Regions from separate parts of the Homo sapiens genome. Here all the other regions are linked to region 2. The links are contacts of gene promoters, found by promoter capture Hi-C in blood cells and fetal thymus (Javierre and others, 2016). All regions are on one chromosome and are shown on one strand. The core of a region is centred on a gene start or on the middle of the fragment in contact, and the rest is flanking DNA. Distances in the headings are between cores, read along the strand shown.

Region 1 (4,940 bases), core at 2,105-4,604, 560 kb before region 2:
ACTGGTTCACTGAGTTATGCAGATCTCCCACGTGTCACAGTTTATTGTATAGTGTCAAAAAAATCATATCACCACAATCTCTTCAGAGAAGTAGTTAAATATTGGGAAGCACTCAAACTCGTGGTGGCAGATACCATTTTGCCAAAATTCTAATTTTCTTTGGGAAGCTCAAATTTTATCATTGGCAACAAGTACAGTCAGTTGGTTTCCTTGAAGTGACAGGCTTACTTTGTTTCATTTTCCAGAACCTTTGCCAAATAATGACGTCGGAATAACTATTACTTATGTGTCATTCATTCTTTCAAGTAAACATGGCGTTCCACAGAAAAATCCTGCAATTCAGACAATCACACAAGTGCTTTAGAGATAATCAACATGTTCTGCATGCAGCATAAATGTTTTATATGTACTTCACATTTTATCACACAGAATATTAAAAAGCATACTCAAGGACACTTTTTAATGAGATTTAATATAATTTACACTGTGTCGGGCTGGGCGCAGTGGCTCACGCCTGTAATCCCAGCACTTTGGGAGGCCGAGGCGGGCAGATCACAAGGTCAGGAGATCGAGGCCATCCTGGCTAACACGGTGAAACCCTGTCTCTACTAAAAATACAAAAAATTAGCCGGGCGTGGTAGTAAGTGCCTGTAGTCCCAGCTACTCAGGAGGTTGAGGCAGGAGAATGGCGTGAACCCAGGAGGCGGAGGTTGCAGTGAGCCGAGATCGTGCCACTGCACTCCAGCCTGGCGACAGAGCGAGACTCTGTCTCAAAAAGAAAAAAAAAATTTACACTGTGCCATCAAGTAAACCTGGTTGTATTCTTTCACTGTGTGGTGGAAAAGTATAGTGGGTAAGAATCTAATTTCGTGCCATCGTCTTGATTCATGCTAAGTCACCAGCAGTTTTACTCATTATTGCTTTTGCTCTATCAGTGGAAAGGTCAGCACAGTAAAAAGGCAAATAACATCTTAGGTTTTTTTCTTTTTCTTTTTTTTTGTCCGAAGACAGGCTGGAGTGCAGTGGCATGATCATGGCTTACTGCAGTCTCCACCCCCCAGGCTCAGGTGATCCTCCTACCACAGGCATGCACCACCACATCTAGCTGATTTTTTGTATTTTTTTTTTGTAGAGACAAGGTTTCACCATGTTGCCCATGCTGGTCTTGAACTCTGGAGCCCAAGTAATTTGCCCACCTTAGCCTCCCAAAGTGTTGGGATTATAGGCACAAGTCACCCCACCCAGCTACCTCTTAGTTTTGTTATGAAAATATTTTCTATGTAGCAGGACCGCCAAAAGGATCTTAGGGTCCCCTCAGGGTCTGTGGACCATGCTTTGAGAACTGCTGCTCCAGAGCCCACCTGAGAAGGAGGAAAGAGCCTCCTTCCCGAAGCTGATAAAGGGCAAGGCTTCAGGAGAGTGAGTCACCCCATTACATAAACCCTTCCACTGGTTTCACTTTTCAGTAATTTATAGGTTTACCTCCCTCAGCTCCAGCTGCCATAACCTGTATCTTTTCCTCAGGTTTGCTTACTTGTTTGGCATTGCTAAACTGTGCTCTACAAGAGCTACCTGTAATTTCACTAATCTTGACTTATACGGACCCACCCTTCTCACTAGGCTGTATTCTTGACCTTCCTCTCTTAGTAGGGCTTTAGGAGAGATATATTGCTCCTCCACCTTTCCTTAGGGAGAGAGAGCTTGGGATTTATCTCATAAGAGAAAATTAATGTGATTCCTACACTCCTCTCTATTTGGTTCCAGGCAAGTCAGTTCTATCTTCTTCTTTTTTTTTTTTTTGGAGACAGAGTCTTGCTCTGTCACCCAGGCTGGAGTGCAGTGGCACAGTCTCGGCTCACTGCAAGCTCCGCCTCCCGGGTTCAGGCCATTCTCCTGCCTCAGCCTCCCAAGTAGCTGGGACTGCAGGCGTCTGCCACCACGCCTTTTGTATTTTTAGTAGAGATGGGGTTTCACCGTGTTAACCAGGATGGTTTTGATCTCCTGACCTCGTGATCCACCTGCCTCAGCCTCCCAAAGTGTTGGGATTACAGGCGTGAGCCTGTCAGTTCTATCTTCTAACATAACTGTTGAGCAGTTGAGGTAATCTCATCAGAGATCTTGTGGACTGTAGACTGAACCATTTCTGATGTCCTGAGTTTCCCTGGTGACCGAGGGAAACACCTAGTTGAAGGAGGAAAGGGAAACTGCATTTCCCAAGAGCCACACTCTCTTGTAGGAGAGTGATTTAATTAGTGGGTAATGAATAATTGCTTTCTCTAGAAATAGATACCTTGTCCAAGTTGGTCTGGGCCTGGTCCCTGGAGACTTGTTGGTTTGCGACAGCAGCAATAGATTTTCTTTTCTTTTTTTTTTTTCTTTTGAGACGCAGTTTCACTCTTGTTGCCCAGGCTGGAGTGCAATGGCGCAATCTCGGCTCACCGCAACCTCTGCCTCCCAGGTTCAAGCGATTCTCCTGCCTCCACCTCCCAAGTAGCTGGGATTACAGGCATGCACCACCATGCCTGGCTAGTTTTGTATTTTTAGTAGAAATGGGGTTTCTCCATGTTGCTCAGGCTGGTTTCGAACTCTCGACCTCAGGTGATCTGCCCACCTCGGCCTCCCAAAGTACTGGGATTTCAGGCATGAACCACTGCGCCCGGCCAGCAATAGATTTTCTAACATAGGCTACTAATCATTCACACTCCTTTAAGGAGGAAACTTGAGGCAAAATCACCCCATAAAGATTGGAGGACAGAACTGTATAGGCAGTTTCCAAATGCTGCATGAAGATGACAAAGTAGGATGTTCAGATTCCTGAGAATGGGTGTTTTAAAGGGGAGAGTCTGGAGCCAGGGACATCAGTCAGGCTGCTTACCTTAACAGTCCTGCACTTGGTGTTAGAGGGGTTGGAGACTGGGCTGAGGCAGCCATGCAAATAGAAGGGGATGTTTCAGGCCATTTTGTTGATCCATACAACTTTCTGCAGTTTTTTATTCTTCACTCTTACCCCTTTATTCAAGTTTTATTTTTATTTTTAACAGTTTTGTGGAGGTATAATTCACATTGAACATATCCATCGTTTCTAAGTCAATTTTTTAAAAACTTTTGTTCTAGGAAGACTTAGTGTTCCATAAAGTTGTTGGGGGAGGAGACTTGGGCAATATTGCTAATAGGAGGCCAAACTGGACCAGGGTTCTTCCCACCCCCTTCTGCCAGCGTGGCTCTGTATTTGAGGTTAAAGATCCCCAGAGATTTCCTATAAAAGCCATCATGAAGCTTATAGGGCATATCACTAGGGTAAGTGAACAGTGGTGTGAGATAGCCTTGGGAAAGTATCACGTGAGAGGGACACACAACAGGTGCTCGTGGAGAGGGTGGGTCTTGAGCTGGGTCTGGAAAAGGTAAATAAAATATGGTAAGGATTCACAAGGAAGAAGCTTAGTGGAGTAAAGCCCTGCAGACAGGCATTTGAAAGGTTTATTCCAGGAATTTAGTGTAAGACCAGCGCAGTTCACATAACAGAGTTCAAGGTAGGAGGAAATGGAAATAAGCCTTAAAAAAAAAAAAAAAAAGATTAAGGGTCGACTATGGAGTCTTGTGGACCAAAGCTAAGAAATCTCACATGACAGTCATCTGGAATGCTTGTTAAAACTGCAGACTCATGGCCCTACTCCACACCAACTGAATCCTCTTGAAGGTGAATCTCAGGACTTTGCATCTCAGGTTATTCTGATGCAGGTGGGCCACCACAGTGTTTAGTAAGTGCTCATGGACCGTTTTTGAAAAGGGATTGACCTGATGAAGCAATACAGCAAAATTAATCTGGAGGTTGCCTGCAGGGTGGAATTAGGAAGGGCACACCTTGGAGACACATGCTTCAGTCAGTGCTGTTGCAGTAAGTCCAGATCTAGGGGCATGGTGGAAATAATAAAAGGAGGAAGAATGCTAAGTAGACAGAGTGTCTTAAATTTCATGACTGGTTTCCCTTTGGGGAAATAAAGTAAAGGAAAAAGTCAGAAATAACTTAGTTTTCCTCTTAGGTGATTTGGAGAAAGAAGGGTCCACTCAAGGAAATGGGACGATCAGGAGTGGAGAGCTAGTTTGACACACTAGATTGAAGTGGTTGGACATGCATTTGGAAAGGTGGAACAGGCAGTTGGTGATGCAGACATGAAACTTGAGACGACAAATCTGCAAAATGACTCTTCTGCAGATAATAGTTGACATTGTGAGAGAGATTGATTTGATGTGGGGGAGGATGAAAGAACTGGAGGATTTTGGATTGGCCTCAGGAGGAGGAAAGACACTATTGAAGGGGTTGGGTACAGCTGTGGCAGAGTGCACGCACTGAGTAAAAAATAGCAACAAGGAGATGGTGGTAAGAGGGGAACGCCTTTTTCATATGAATAGGTCCAACTCGTGGCTTTGCTGATGTGATATTGTGATATAATAAGAAATACTCCAGCCTGGTCAGCATGGTGAAACCCTGTCTCTACAAAAATACAAAAATTATCCGGGCACGATGGCGGGTGCCTGTAATCCCGGCTATTCGGGAGGCTGAGGCGGGAGAATTGCATGAACGCGGGAGGCAGAGGTTGCAGCGAGCCGAGATCGTACCATTGCACTCCAGCCTGGGCAACACAGTGAGACTCCGGTCTCAAAAAAAAAAAAAAAAAGAAAGAAATACATAATTGGGGTGTGCCCCTGGTTCCTGGCTCCTAAAACCTTCAGAACTTGTAAGTGATAAGTGTCTTTTTATATGCTAATGAGATGATTGATAGCTGGGGACTCCTGAATAGCCTCAAGATGGGAGGCTGATTGCCGAGAGAACCAACCATGTGATTAGAGGGTTGGAACTTTCAGTTCCATCCCCCACCTTCTGGGAAGGGGAGTGGAGCCAAAGATTGAGCTGACTACCAATGGCCAGTGATTTATTCAGT
Region 2 (4,872 bases), core at 2,373-4,872:
GGTATGGAATTTTCCACTTGTGGCATCATGTCAGGTACTCAAAAAGTTTTGAATTTTTGAACATTTCACATTTTGGGTTTTTGGAGTAGGGATGCTCCATCTGTACTACCATGCTTGTATGCACATTTAGTATACACTTTGTTCTACACCTTGTTTTTTCAGTTAATAATAAATCTGGAAGATGGTCCATATGAATACTGTTAGCTATGCCTCATTCTATTTGGTCACAATATAATATTCCATCGTATAGCATACCAACACTTGTTTTACCAGTCTGCTATTAACGGGTATTTAGATTGTTTCCAATCTTTTGCTATTAAAAAGAATGCTGCAACCCTTGTATGTATTTTTTTTGCACATATATATGACCATACATTCTTAGAATTGAGATTTCTGGGTCAAAGATTATGCATTTTAAATCTTGCTCTCTTTAAAAGTCACACCAGGCCGGGCACGGCGGCTCACGCCTGCAATCCCAGCTACTTGGGAGGCTGAGGCAGGAGAACTGCTTGAACCCGGGAGGCAGAGGTTGCCGTGAGCCAAGATTGCACCATTGCACTCCAGCCTGGGCAATAAGAGTGAAACTCTGCCTCAAAAAAAAAAAAAAAAAAAAAGTCACATCAAATTACCCACCCTCCCACTACCAATCTATAAGAATGCCTGTGCCCTCAGCCTTGCCCATACAATGTATTCAACTTTTTTCTTTTTTTTGTCTTTGTCAATCATCCAATAAGTGAAACAAAGTATTTTGTTAGGGCCATGTGCCCGGGTGCAGTGGCTCTGGCCTATAGTCCCAGCACTTTGGGAGGCTGAGGCAGGAGGATCATCTGAGGCCAGGAGTTTGAGACCAGTCTGGCCAACATGGTGAAACCCCATCTCTACAAAAAATACAAAAATTAGCCAGGGGTGGTGGCACATGCCTGTAATCCCAGCTACTTGGGAGGCTGAGGCAGGGGAATTGCTTGAACCTGGGAGGTTGCAGTGAGCCAAGATAGTGCCACTGCACTGGAGCCTGGATGACAGAGCAAGACTCCATCTCAAAAAACAAAACCCCAAAGTATTTTGTTGTAGCTTTATTATTATTATTCTTTTAAAAATTATTATTATTTGAGATGGAGTTTCACTCTTGTTGCCCAGGCTGGAGTGCAATGGCACGATCTTGGCTCACTGCAACCTCCGCCTCCCGGGTTCAAGTGATTTTCCCGTCTCAGCCTGCCGAGTAGCTGGGATTACAGGCATGTGCCACCACGCCTGGCTACTTTTTGTATTTTTGGTAGAGACAGGGTTTCACCATATTGGCCAGGCTGATCTGAAACTCCTGACCTCAGGTGATCTACCCGCCTTGGCCTCCCAAAGTGCTGGGATTACAGGCATGAGCCACCATGCCTGGCCTGTCGTAGCTTTAGTTTACAGTTTTTTTGTGAATGAGATTGAGCATCTTTTCATTTGTTTAAAAGCCAGTATTTCCTCTTCTGTGAGCTGCCTGTCCCTTTGTCCATTTAAAAATGTCATTGTCTTTCATTAGTTGGCATTTCTTTGTGGACAAAGGAAATTAAACCTTTGTCTGCTAGATGTGCTCCATATAATTTCCCTCAGTTGTCATTTGTCTATGTCCTATCCCCTTGAGCACAGAGATTGGAATTTAAACTTTTTTATATTCTTTTTCTTAATATAACAAGACATACACGGTAGGTGCTAGACAAATGTCTGTTGGCACAGCAGAGTAAGAAGAAAAAGGCAGAGATCTGGAAAATTTGGAGTGACTTAACCCAACCACTCCTTCCTCTTATACCAAGTCTAACCCTTAGTCTTTGTGTCAGTCAGGACTCTTATAAACAGCAGAAGCTAACTGGCAAATTGTTTCAAGTCCCCTGCCCCCAACAATTATAGAGATATCGGATAGCACACAGAATCAATGCAAGGGCCAGCAAACAAGGGTCAGCAATCAGACAGGCACCTAGGGAAGCTGGGCAGCCAGTACCACAGTCAAGGTTGGGCACAGGACAGCCTGTGTAGGAGACTCCTGTCCCCTCCACCCTCCGCAGTGATCCTCCTACTCTCGTCCCTCACCTGCGGCAGTAGCGCTGACACTTCCTCCTCCAGACACTAGAGGCCGCTGTTGGCCCCATCGCCTCCACCGCCGCCGCAGAAATGAATTCCTAAACCAGCCTTGCTATTCCGTGACTTGCTCCAGATTCAAAGTCCCAGTTGGAGCATCCGATTGGCGGAGCTCATGTCTTCTGCCTGCAACCCCAGAGCCGAGTCAGGGAGAGCAAGCATTGGGGCTTTGTGGCAAATGGTGGCCTGCTTTCCATTAGGGCCCTTGCGATGGGAATTCCCCAAATGTAGGCAGGAGGTTCTGATGGTGGGCAGCCAGGAAACCAGGACACTCACACCACCTTCTTCTCTCACGTCCGCCTCAAACCCTTCTCGTTGGCGAAGTATTCCTGGGTCCCCCAGCCTAAAGCACTTTTCTGGACTCACATAACCATTATTGCTTGAGCCAATCACGATGCCAGCAGGACCGCAGTAACACCTAATTCGTACCATGTCTCATTTGACTTTCAAACAACCCTAGGCACTACCTATATTTAGTGAGAAAAAAAGAGTGCTCAGAGATTTTCCCAAGTCTCACAGTAATGCCAGGTTGTACTCTGTTTCCAAAGCCTCGGGTTTCCCAGCGGGCTACACTGATGGGCTGGTATCTTATCAAGTTCAAGCTCTGCAAAGGCAGGGCTTGGGCCACATTCTTCTTTATACGGCCTGGCAGCATCTTGAATGCAGAAAAATGCTCAGCTAACGCCTTTGGATTGGCCTGGATGGGATCAAGCAGGAGCCAGTTCTGGAAGGTTTCCTAACTCTCCAATGAGGCCTGAACCCAGGGAGCATTTTGAAGTGGAATAGGCCTACTCAGGATCAGTTTGGGAAGACTTGAACCTGGGGAATTCCGTTGTACGGCCCCCTTTACCTCACCTCCCCCAAATGTGTCAAAACTGTCAACAAGAGGTTTGCAGGTGTTCATTATTTATTCATCCCACGGGTAGTTTTGAACCCCTACGACTGCTCTAATAGACCAGTGAGAAAAAACACACAATTCCTGTCCTGTGAAATCGACATTCTAGTGGGGGAGGTGAATGGTAATAAAAAATAATCAAACCAATAAATGCTAATTTGTGGCTCTAACAAGCCTGATGAAGGAAATGCCACGAGATGCTGTAAAAGGCAGTTCTGACCTACTCAGGAAAGCCAGGGCAGCCTGCTGGGGGACCTGGGGCTGGAGCTGGGAGCTGAAGAAGGGGGAGGAGTTAGAACCGTGGTGGGGGGAGGGAGGGAAGAGTCTGAGTCCTCGAGGTGGGTGAGTAAGCATGGATCATCGCTCATGTTTATAAGAAAGTGACAGAGGAACCTGGGGGCCGAGCGGCTTGTTTGTGGGCTGCCCCAGCCTCCGTGCGAGCGCTTCTCGCTTGGATGGAGGCGGGGCCGCAGTCTCCCAGGTCCCAGCTGGGGCTGACGTCGTCCTGGTGTGTGCCCAAAATAGCCGGCTCCGCCCTCTTCTCCCGGCAGCCCCTGCAGGCCCCCACCCCCCCAGGGGACAGGCGGAGCCGGCCTTCTCCCCGTCTCTAGTAGTTTCCGCACCGCTGACGCATGCCTGCGCGCACAGCTGGGCCGGGCGCGTCCTACGCAGCAGCCGCGAGCCGGGCTGCGGGTGCCAGACGGTTCCCGGCGGGGGGCAGGGGCGGGGCGCCGCAGGAGGCCGGGACTCCTGGCGGAGGAGGTGCGGCCGGGGGCCCGGGTCAGGCTGGGGGCCCTGGATCGGACTGCTGGAGTTGGGGGGCCCCGATAGGGCTCCTGGGCCTGGGCGTCGAGATAGCTCTTGGCCCCGGCCTGCGGGGGCAGATAAGGCTGCCGGAGGGAGCCTAGTCACCGGCCGCAAGCAGAGCCCGGTGTGCTCCGCTTCCAACTGGGAGCGCCTTCCGCCACCCGGGGAGGGGGACTGCTGCAGCCACAGGGTGGGGCTCTTGGTTCTTTCCGCCTGACTCCTTCTCTTCTGCAGCCCCAAGGAGGCCCGCCTGACGACTGACCAGTTGCCATGGCATCCTACTACGAGATCCTAGACGTGCCGCGAAGTGCGTCCGCTGATGACATCAAGAAGGCGTAAGTGCCTCCGTATGCAACAGAAGACCTCTCACCCTCCACCCGCCACCACCATGGGGCACTTCAGAGTGACACCTGTAGGTGTCTGAGGGAACCAGGTCGTTAGAAAGCACTGGGGTGCTTCTTCCGAGTGACACCTGCAGGGAGGAAAGAGACCCCTGGTAGAGTACAAGGAGAACGTCCAGAGAGTGAAGTAGTTAGTTCCTCTGGGAGCTGCACTGTGTTATGGGTTGTTCTCCAGTTGATCTTCCCCTCCTCCTCCTCCTCCTCCTCCTTTCCCCTCCCCTCCCCCTTCCCCCTAGATTTGGGCATTCTCAGGCTGCAGTGCAAAGATGCAGTGCAAAGAGGCTCTATGAGGAGGAGGGGCCGGTGTCCCTGTACTCTTCGAGGCCACATGTGCCCCAACCTTTGCAGCCCCAGTCCAGTGAGCCCTAGGGAGGGGCTAGGGACCCTGGCATTGTATCCGCTTGTACATGTGGTCCCAGCACTGGTGGCGGAGGAGAGAGGGTGGAACTTGATGAAAATATCACAGCAGCGGCAGCCCTAGCAGCTGGGGTGGACTGGGACCCGGGGGTGAAAGGACAGTGATAGGCTAATGGGAAAACAGGTCGTTCGGTTCCTGGGTGGGAAGTGCCTGCATTTGTCCCCCGACTCTCTCCTCTGCACCCACTTTCTGCAGGTATCGGCGCAAGGCTCTCCAGTGGCACCCAGACAAAA
Region 3 (4,638 bases), core at 1,272-3,771, 580 kb before region 2:
ATTTTGTATTTTTAGTAGAGACAGGTTTCTCCATGTTGGTCAGGCTGGTCTCGAACTCCCAACCTCAGGTGATCCACCTGCCTTGGCCTCCCAGAGTGCTGGGATTATAGGCGTGAGCCACTCTTTTTTTTTTTGAGACTGAATATCACTCGTTGCCCAGGCCAGAATACAGTGGCGCAATCTCAGCTCACTGTAACCTCTGCCTCCAGGTTCAGCCAATTCTTGTGCCTCAGCCTCCTGAGTAGCCGGGACTATAGGTGCCTGTCACCATGCCCGGCTAATCTTTGTATTTTTATTATTTATTTATTTATTTATTTACTTATTTATTTTTAAGATGGAGTCTCGCTCTGTTGCCCAGGCTGGAGTACAATGGCACAATGTTGGCTCACTGCAACCTCTGCCTCCCAGGTTCAAGTGATTCTCCTGTCTCAGCCTCCCAAGTAGCTGGGATTACAGGCACACACCACCTTACCTGGCTAATTTTGCATTTTTAGTGGAGACAAGGTTTCACCATGTTGGCCAGGCTGGTCTTGAACTCCTGACCTCAAGTGATCCACCCGCCTCAGCCTCCCAAAGTGTTGGGAATACAGGTGTGAGCCACCCTGCCTGACCGCGATTTTCAGTATATAAAGAGTCCAGTAGGCCAGGCTCTGTGGCTCTTGCCTGTAATCCCAGCACTTTGGGAGACTGAGGTGGGCGGATCACTTGAGGTCAGGAGTTTGAGACCAGCCTGGCCAACATAGTGAAACCCTGTCTCTACTAAAAATACAAAAATTAGCTGGGTGTGGTGGCAGGCGCCTGTAATCCCAGCTTCTCGGGAGGCTAAGGCAAGAGAATCCCTTGAACCTGGGAGGAGGAGGTTGCAGTGAGCGGAGATCATGCCTCTGCATTCCAGCCTGGGTGACATAGCGAGACTCTGTCTCAAAAAAAAAAAAAAGCCCATTGGAAATCACAGATATCTACATATGGTAATATAAATTATGACATCTCAAAGTGGTAGCATTGGGAAGTTCATGCAGAGCAGAAATTTGAGAGGATGGTGAAGATCTTTTTTTTTTTTTTGAGACGGAGTCTCACTTTGTCGCCCCCAGGCTGGAGTGCAGTGGCGCGATCTTGGCTCACTGCAAGCTCTGCCTCCCGGGTTCACGCCATTCTGCCTCAGCCTCCCGAGTAGCTGGGACTACAGGCACCTGCCGCCACACCCAGCTAATTTTTTGTATTTTTTTTTTTTTTAGTAGAGACGGGGTTTCACCGTGATAGCCAGGATGGTCTCGATGTCCTGACCTCGTGACCCGCCCGCCTTGGCCTCCCAAAGTACGGGATTACAGGCATGAGCCACCTTGCCTGGCCGATGGTGAAGATCCTATAGGAATCTTGTGCAATCCATGGGGAAAATAATTAATGGGATTCTTGGTGGTAATGAGGTTAGAACTCACTGGTCTGCATTGAAGGCTAGGAATTAGACCTTTTGGCTTACTGTGAGTTACTGCTGCATTCATCAAGTCTTCCTGGGGACAAGTATATGTGTCCCTTAGTGCCTTGGTTTCATGGTCTATAACCAAAGAGAATGGAAGTAGACTTCTGGTCCTGATGATTCCTATCTCCAAGGTTTCTCTTCTGCCATTCAGTCTATTCCAAGTCCCCAAGAGCCCATTTCCTTTTTCTTCCTCTTCTCGAGTGGGAATTCCTGGGTAAATGAGAGTCCTCCGCACCTGCCCCAGACACCACCATTTCTGAGCCTCATGTTCTGTTCTATCATCTGTTCTCTATCCTACAGGTACTGGTGTCCCTGGGTGCCAGTGAGAAACTATCCTTGCTCTCTCTGGGGAATCAGTCACTGCCACACAGCAGTCCTAGGCCTGCCTCTGCCAAACACTGCAGGAAACTCATTCACCTCCTGAGGCCAGCCCATAGCATGTGATTCCAGATTCCTGCGGTCCAGCCTCCAACTTTGGTTGCCAGCTCTTTCTTATTCTACTACACAAGCCGCCAACTCAACTGAGAGCTAAAGAGACTAGAAAAGAGATAAGCTGCCAACTCAACTGAGAACAAGAAACTAGAAGAGATTTATATATAAAGCTTCTTCCTTCTCCCAGATGCAGGATGTTTTCAACCAGTAAATTTTATTGCTGTTGGTGCCAGAGAAGAGTCCTTTCTTCTCTACATCCAGGGGCCTTTTCTCCAATAATGTGCCTTTAACTCTAGGGACCTGCCTCACGGACCTTAGGGAAAAACCTCAACCTGAAAGATCTCTTCCTTTCTGGAGCTCCTTTAATCTTCCCAGCAGGTTTTTGCCTTAGACGTGCTGGCCCCAGGACAGTGATGAAGACAGAGCCTGTCTCAGCTCTAGGCTGTGGGGATCAATGCCATCAGTCCCTGTTATTGAGGGATTATCCCTTAGCCAACATTCCTATCTGTGGGTGGGCGTGGAGAGTGTATCTTTTTTTGGGGTGTGTGTGTATATGTGTGTGTGTATGTGTGTGTGTGTTTAATAGTTCTGTTTGTAAACTCTTTTAATAAAAGTTGTGCCTCACCATACTTGAAGCTCCCAGGACAAGGGTTGAGAGGCTCAACCCCTCTTTCAGCTTCTATGTGGTGTTGGAGGTGCTGGTATCGTGTTCACACAAGATCCTGGTCTGGCAGCTTATTTATATCATTTCTTGCCTTTACCAATTTCCCCCTTCCTAGATGAACTATATTTGGTTACCTACTTTCAAGTCAAGGCCGGTGGAGCTGAAATAGGAAAGGGTAAGATTCAACAGAGCGGTCAATTAGGTTGCTCAGACTTAGTGACTAATTTTAATATTTAGTGGAGTTCTAATGTGTAGGGACTCCAAGCTGCTGTAGAAGGATAGCTATTTTAAAGATTGTACAATTTACCAGAAAGGGCTTTTAGTCAGACCTGTTAGAATTATAATCTAACTGGAAGCATTGGAAAACCTTAACTCATTGGATGGCTTAGAACAAGCTTCCAGGGCCTTGATTTCTCCATCCATAAAATGAGGAGACTCCTTTCTGTCCTTCCTTAAATTCCAGTTGTTTTAGAAATGAAAGACAAGTAAAGTGCCCTTATTTTTATAAGAAATTTTGTTTAACCCTCATCTTCATTGTCCACAGTGTTTATACTTTAGCAAAAATAATATTTTTCTAGGGAGCACCATAATTTTCTTCTATCCAGATTATCTCAATTCAGTTCAATGTATATTTTTTGAGTCCTTTCTGTATGCCAGATACTATTCTAGGTACAGGAGATAAAACAGTGCCCATCATAGAGTTTCCATTCTGGTCGGGGAGATAGTGAAATTATTAAAAGAATAGTATGTAGGAAGGTGGTAAAAGCTATGGAGAAAAAGAAACCAGGGAAAGGAGATGAGGAGTGCTGAGTCGGATGGTCAGGGTAGGCCTCACTAGAAGGTGACACTTGAGAAAAGACTCGAAGGAGGCGAGGGAGTGAGTTGTGCACCTATTTTGGGGAAAAGCCAAGGCCCTGAGATGAAAGCATGCCTGGCATGCTTGAGGAGCTATGAGGAACCAGTATGGATTAAGTGAGTAAAGAAGGTGGAGAATAGTAGGAAATGAGACAGGAAGGTAATGGTGGGGGCCAGATATTGTAGGCTTTGTAGACCTTGGTGAAGACTTGGGCTCTTACTTTGAATGAAGGAGGCATCTATTGCAGGCTTTTGAACAGAGAATTTTATGAACTACCTTGCATCCTAAACGGATCATTCTTCATTCTGGTCTTGTGAATGGCTATGGGGAGTAGGGGAGAATGCGAAGTAGGATAAGCAGTTAGGAGGCTATTGTTATAATAATCCAGGCAAGAGACAATGGTGTCCTGGATGGCGACTGGGGTGATACCTATGGAGTGATAAAAAAGTAGTCAAATTTTGAATATATTTTGAACATGGAACAAACAGGATTTCTTGACTGATTGGAGGTGAGGGTATGACCAAAAGAAAGCAGTCAGGGATGACTCCAAGGTTTTTGGTCTGAGCAATTGGAAGAATGGAATTGTCATTCACTAAAATGGGGAAGGCTAGCAGTGGAGTGATAATGGGTGGGAATGAGTTCAATTGTGAACATCTTGTCTTTCAGTTGGAAATGTTTGAACACACACAGAGGTAGAGGATAGTTCAGTGTACTCCATCACTACTTGAGCAGCTACCATATCTATTTTGTTATTCTGGTGTTTGTTTGTTTTTGAGACAGGGTCTCGCTCTGTCACCCAGGCTGGAGGGCAGTGGCATGATCATGGCTCACTGTAGCCTCGACCTCTCAGGCTCAAGGAATCCTCCCACCTCAGCCTCCCGAGTAGCTCGGACTACAGGCGCCCGACTCATTTTTGTATTTTTTATAGAGATGGGGTCTCACTGTGTTGCCCAGGCTGGTTTGGAACTCCTGGGATGAAGTGATACTCCCAAAATGCTGGGGTTACAGGTGTGAGCCACTGCCCCAGCCTTACTCAGGTTATTTTAAAACAAATCCTGGCTGGCAGTGTTATCCATACATACTTAGGTATACGTCTGCGGCAGATCAGGACTTTTGTATTTCACTTTTATCAAAACCACAGTATAGTACTGTACTTGACAAAAATTAACAATTGCTTAATATTAAATATCTCAGCTGACCTTAGTATTT

What was found. Contacts are between HindIII fragments. The CHiCAGO score rates a contact against its expected background, and 5 or more counts as called.
Region 1: a fragment that was not itself captured here is called in contact with the fragment with the promoter of DNAJB2 in region 2 in 4 of 17 cell types (activated CD4 T cells, naive CD8 T cells, naive B cells and 1 more); the score reaches 7.8 in activated CD4 T cells.
Region 3: a contact is called between a fragment that was not itself captured here and the fragment with the promoter of DNAJB2 in region 2, in 4 of 17 cell types (activated CD4 T cells, naive B cells, total CD8 T cells and 1 more). The highest score is 6.7, in activated CD4 T cells.

What each region holds. Positions count from the first base shown.
Region 1 is chr2:218,716,016-218,720,955 of GRCh38, forward strand. All of the region lies in intron 1 of TTLL4 (tubulin tyrosine ligase like 4), which reads left to right. Among named protein-coding and RNA genes, the nearest start is that of TTLL4, 7.7 kb to the left of the region's middle. RefSeq lists a silencer at 3,551-3,848. The HindIII fragment of the contact is 161 bases long and covers 3,275-3,435 here.
Region 2 is chr2:219,275,744-219,280,615 of GRCh38, forward strand. It overlaps DNAJB2 (DnaJ heat shock protein family (Hsp40) member B2), which reads left to right and starts at 3,623. Exons shown (of 9, transcript NM_006736.6): 1 at 3,623-3,775; 2 at 4,055-4,155; 3 at 4,835-4,872. The coding sequence starts at 4,091. RefSeq lists an enhancer at 1,743-2,447 and silencers at 2,024-2,226, 3,468-3,947. The HindIII fragment of the contact is 26,435 bases long and covers 1-4,872 here.
Region 3 is chr2:218,700,089-218,704,726 of GRCh38, forward strand. STK36 (serine/threonine kinase 36) reads left to right here. Exons shown (of 27, transcript NM_015690.5): 27 at 1,778-2,627. The coding sequence ends at 1,921. Among named protein-coding and RNA genes, the nearest start is that of TTLL4, 8.4 kb to the right of the region's middle. The HindIII fragment of the contact is 889 bases long and covers 2,078-2,966 here.